Regions from separate parts of the Homo sapiens genome. Here region 1 is linked to region 2. Evidence: promoter capture Hi-C in 16 types of primary human blood cells and fetal thymus (Javierre and others, 2016). All regions are on one chromosome and are shown on one strand. The core of a region is centred on a gene start or on the middle of the fragment in contact, and the rest is flanking DNA. Distances in the headings are between cores, read along the strand shown. Region 1 overlaps MED27 (mediator complex subunit 27). Region 2 holds the start of NTNG2 (netrin G2).

The links. Contacts are between HindIII fragments. The CHiCAGO score rates a contact against its expected background, and 5 or more counts as called.
Region 1: a fragment that was not itself captured here is called in contact with the fragment with the promoter of NTNG2 in region 2 in 1 of 17 cell types (endothelial precursors); the score reaches 5.8 in endothelial precursors.

What each region holds. Positions count from the first base shown.
Region 1 is chr9:131,984,075-131,986,774 of GRCh38, reverse strand. All of the region lies in intron 3 of MED27 (mediator complex subunit 27), which reads left to right. Among named protein-coding and RNA genes, the nearest start is that of MED27, 94 kb to the left of the region's middle. The HindIII fragment of the contact is 1,143 bases long and covers 769-1,911 here.
Region 2 is chr9:132,160,771-132,163,470 of GRCh38, reverse strand. NTNG2 (netrin G2) reads right to left here and starts at 1,413. Exons shown (of 8, transcript NM_032536.4): 1 at 1,232-1,413. LOC124902291 (a long non-coding RNA gene) reads left to right here and starts at 1,771. Exons shown (of 2, transcript XR_007061826.1): 1 at 1,771-1,855. The HindIII fragment of the contact is 8,295 bases long and covers 1-2,700 here.

The DNA.
Region 1 (2,700 bases), core at 91-2,590, 180 kb after region 2:
AAGGCCAAGTAATTGTCAGGAATAATATTTCAGAAGGTAAATACAGTCATGCATCATTAGGCTCTTCCATCATTGTGCAAACATATATTTACAAAAACCTAAATGGTAGAACCCACGGCACACCTAGGCTATAAGGTGTAGCCTGTTACTCCTAGGCTACAAACCTCTACAGCATGGTACCATAGTGAGTACTAAAGGCAGTGTAAGACAATGGTAAGTATTTATGTATCTAAACATACCTAAGCATAGTAAATGTATAGTAAAAATACTGTATGAAAGGTAAAAAAAAATGGAGCTGTGTGCAGTGGCTCATGCCTGTAATCCCAGTACTTGGGAGGCTGAGGTGGGAAGATTACCTGAGGCCAGGAATTCAAAACCAGCCTGGGCGACATAGCAAGACCCTGCCTCTATAACAAACAAACCAAAAAGAAAGATAAAAAATGGTACACCCGGACAGGAACTTCACCATGCATGGAGCTTGCAGGACTACAGGTTGCTCTGGGTGAGTCAGTGAGCCATGGTGAGTGAATGTGAAGGTGTAGGGCATTACTATACACTGCTGTAGACTTTACAGACACTGTACACTCAAGCTACACTAAATCTGTAAGAACATTTTTTCTTCCGTAATAAATTAGCCTTACTTTTTCACTTTATAAACTTTTACATTTTGTTAACTTTTTGATTCTTTTGTTATGACGTTTACCTTAAAACAAATACATTGTACAACTGTACAAAAGGATTTTCTTTATATTCTTATTCTGTAAAGCTTTTTTCTATTTTTTATTTTTGTTTTATTTTATTTATTTTTTTCTTACTTTTTAAACTTTTTTGCTAAAACCAAAGACACAAATGCACACATTAGCCTAGGCCTACACAGGGTCAGGATCATCTGTATCAGAGTCTTCCACCTTCACATTTTGTCCCAGTGGAAGGTCTTCAAAGGCAGTAACACACAGAGCTGTCATCTCCTATGATAACAATGCCTTCTTCTGGATCCCTCCTGAAGGACCTGCCTGAGGATGTTTTACAGTCAACTGTTTTTAATAAGTAGAAGTAGTATATGCTAAAAAAAAAAAACAATTAAAATTATAGTACAGTAAATTCATAAACCAGTAACAGTCATTTATTATCATTATCAAGCACTCTGTACTATACATAATTGTATAGGCTGTGCTTCTATGTGACAGGCAGTGCAGTAGGTTTGTTGACACCAGCTTAAACACAAACACATGAGTAATGTGTTGTGCTGTGACTTTACCATGGCTACTATGTGATAGGAATTTTCCAGCTTCATTATAATCTTATGGGACCACTGTCATATATGCGGTCTCACCAAAACACTGTTATGCGACACTTGACTGTGTTATAAAACATGGGAATGCAAAAATATTCACAAAGCACATAGAATGAGGAGATTGGGATGACAAATTTTCTCATCTTATTTGGGAGCAGGAGATATATCTAAACATTAAGAAATAGAGGTTTTAGTGTATTATGTAAAATTTGAAAGAAAATTCTTAAAAAGCACTAAAAAGAAAGGGGATGCCAGAGTCTTGAAGAAAACAGTAAAGACTTAGAGTCCGCAAAGCAAAAGGCAAAGAACCAAAGCAAGCATCCAGAGCAGGACACATGAAATAAGACATAAAAGAAGATAAAACAAAACAGTCTCATAAGACCACCAAATTAGGCCACACACCTGCAATATCAATAAATACCAATGAGATAAATATCTACTACAGGAAAAAGACTCAGATTGTCCCCAAAATTAAACCCTGCTATGTACAACATAAAACAGCTGTTAGACAAAGACAGATCCTGTATTTCTAACTAAAAGAAAACTGGACTTGTAATAGAAATACTAGATAAGGTTGAGCTCAAGGCATATGGTATAAATGGCTGCAAAGAGAAGCTTTATAAGGACAGAATGTAAGTCCACAGTGAGGCCATAACAGGTCAGTCCCAGGCTCAAAATACCAGCATAAATGTATAAATGTCAGGAAGCGCCAGGAGAAACAGGGACTGTGACTCACCTCAGGAGTTCACAGCAGACCAGCAAGATGGAAAATCAGAGAAGCATGTGGAAGATTTAAATACTTTCTCCTTATTGTAGTTTTTAGCTGAAATGACACCTCCTCAGAGGGACCTTCCCTGACTACCCAATCTAAAGTAGCTTCCCCAGTCACTTTGTATCATACACCTTTTTAAGATCTCTGTAGCGCTCTGTTCCGCTGTTCTCTTATGGGTGTATTATGTTGTGTTTTGTTTTGTTATTTGGCCCAAATCCCTGTGAAGGAGGGACCCTGTTTGTTCTGGTGACTGCTGTAACCCCAGTGCCTAGAACAGTGCCTGGCAAACAAGTCGATCTTGAGTTCATAGTCATCTGAGTGCCTGCTAAATGGCAGGCACTGTTCTAGGAGCCCTGAGCACTTGAGTGAACAGACTCCTGCCCTTGTGGTGCTTACATTCTAGTGGAGAATATGGAAGACAAACAATCAGAAGTCATGTACAGAATGTGAGGAGGTGATTAGTGCTATCGGGGAAAGTGGGGCGGATGTGAAGAGCCAGGAGAGCTGGGCCTGTGGGAGGTGGGCAGCGACTTTAAAAAGAACGGTCAGGGAAACTGCCTTGAAATGGTGACATCTGAGCAAATGTGGGGAGGGAGTTAGCTGTGTAGGTCTCTAGGGTAGGTGTCCCAGACAG
Region 2 (2,700 bases), core at 164-2,663:
CGCCCCGCGCTCACTGTAGCCTCGGCGGGCCTCTTAATTCCGGCGGCCCGGGTGTCCCCCCGCTCCGGAGCGGGCCCTTTATCCGGCCCCTGGGTCCCCGCCCGCGGGAGCCCTGGAAAGTTGGGCGCGGGAGGCGGGGCGCGAGCAGCAGCTCCCGGGTGGGTCCCGGCGGGCCGCGGGCGGGGTCGAGGCCGGGGCCAGGGTCGAGTCAGTGCTTCGGGCCGGCTGCGAGCCCTGTGCCTAGGACACCGACGACCCGGCAGCCCCGCAGCTGCTTTTCGTCTTCCCAAAGTTGCGTGCAAGCCACGGCAGCAATTAATAATTAAGCCCGTAATAAAGGCCCGGCCGGGACTGAGGCGCCCCCTTTTTCGGCACTGCCTCTCTTAATTAAAAGACACAGAGCAGGGCGCCCAGGAACTGGCTGTATCCTTTGCCCCGGCGCTGCCGCCTGTGGCGACCCGGCCGCCGCCGCCCCCAGCCCAGACGGCCAACTTACTCCGGAGCGGGCGGACCCCGCGAGCCCGCGGTCCTCTCTTCCCGCCTTCCCGCCGCCTCTGCTCCCCCCACCTGCGCGCCGCTCAGTTCCAGGTTCGACTCCACGCCGGCCCCAAACCAGTGCCTGCGCCCCCTCACCTCCCGACCCCCTCCCGGCGCCGGGAGAAGTTTCCAGCCGGACTGGCCGGGAGTTTCTCTGTGCAACTCACAGGCTCCCAGTTTGCAGAGAGATGGGAGGGCACGGGATGGGGGTGGCTCTAAGCGGTGGCGGTGGAATTGGGGTGGGGGAGAGGCGCGGGAGCAGGGTTAGTTTCCTTTTCCGAGACACATCCGAGCATCCTTGCAACATCCCTCCCCGACACACACACACACACACACACACACACACACACACACACACACACACTCTGTCTCTCTCTCACACACACACACACACACACTCTCACACACACGACGGAAAGGACCCGGGGGAAGCTGGCCAGAAAGACAAGCTACCCCTTTAAGATGCTGCTAAGAACGCACCCTCACACACCCCTCTGGGGCGACTCCAGTTCTCAGCTCGTAGCAGCCGCCACCAAACAACTTTTGCATCCGAGCCTTTGCCGGGCCGCTGTAAGTGGCTCCCGGGCCCGGGCAAGCCTGCATGGTCACCGAAGCCCTTTAAAAATGAAACCGGCCTGGCCAAGCTGCAGCCTCTCCCCCCGCCCGCCTCCCGGGCTCTCCCCGCCCGCCTTACCCCGGCTCGGAGCGGCTTCCCGGCGCGGAGACCTGGGAGGGCCGAGGACCGCCACCCTCCGGCGCTGCGCCTCCCCCCTCGGGCTGGCGCTGGGTGGGGGCGCGGGCCGAGGGCTGCGAGCCGCTGCTCCTTCCCCGCGCCGCTCCCGCCGCTGTGGCCGCCGCCGCCGCCGCCGTCAGATCGGGGCCAGGGAGCCCTCCGGCCGCCGGGGGGGCCGCCCGCAGCCGTCCCGGAGACGCGGGCCGGGGGAGGGGGCCGCCCGCGCCGCCCGCATCGCCCGCCCGGGCTGAGCGGGAGGTCGCCGCTAACAAGTGCAAACTTTTTGGCCCCCCTGGGCGGCCCGGGGAGGACCCGCGCTCGGGCGCCGGGCAGCCCCCGGCCCGGGTGGGCTTCGCGGCGTCTCGTCGGGGAGCCGGGGCATCCCCCCGGCGCGGCGCGGGCCAGATGGCGGGCGCTTCACTGCCCCCCTGCACTCCGCTCCAAGTTAATGCCGAGGCTAAATCCTCTTGCCATCACTCACGATCACCATCGGGGCTTTTATCTCTCGGTCTGATCCGGGCTGCGTAACTTCCTCTGTGTGGCTTTAACACACCATCCCACCACGGAGCAACGGTCTTCTTAAAGGTGCAGGAAGGAAATATTGCGCGGCTCGGGGGACGCGCCACGGCCCGGGGAGGGGCGCGGCGAGCAGGGGCGTCCCGGCGGGCCCGTGGCCAGGGTGGCCCCGGCAGCCTCTGGGGGGTCGCTGCCTAAACATCGCCTCCCGGCCCGGGGGCCAGCGGGTCCCTGCGCCCAGAGCGCATCCTCAGCCGGCTCCGGTCAGGCGCAGCCGGGCTGCAGCTTCCTCTTCCAAAACCCGGGGGCCTGCCGGGGTGCCAGCGCCCATGGGTGTGGGGGCTGCCCCATCGGCACGAGGGAGGGGGGCCAAGTGAGTCAGTTCCCCCACCCCCCACAGCCAAGGGCTCAGGGCTGCTCCTCGGTCTCTCTCTGTGAAGTGCTGCCACCCAGAAGGCCCCAAGCAGTGGGTACCGGGGTGGGTGGGTGGATTTGGGGAGATGGGGAGGGGGAGCGATCTGAGCGCACAACCAGAGCCTGAATACCAGCTGACACATCGCCGCCTCCACCCTGATGGGCCCTGCTTTTGACGAAGCCAAGCCAGCTCTGCAGGGAGTGCAGAGTAGTGGGGCAGGAGGGGCCTGGCTGAGGGGTTCTCTGTCTCCCTCCCCTGCAAGCATGGGAGGCAGGTGTGGGAGGGCTCCGGTAGCAGCAGCCCCGGGCAGAGGCCACCGAGTTCACAATATCATATCCGGCAGCCCTGGGCTCTCTGATCCCCAGGAGGTTTCCTGCCAGCCTGCCTCCCAGGGCTTCTGGGAGAGTTTCCACATCTTCCAGAAGCACATGTGGTTTTCGGACACTCCTGGCCTCCTGGGGTGGGCTCACTGCAGCCTTGAGCAGCCAGCACTGTCATT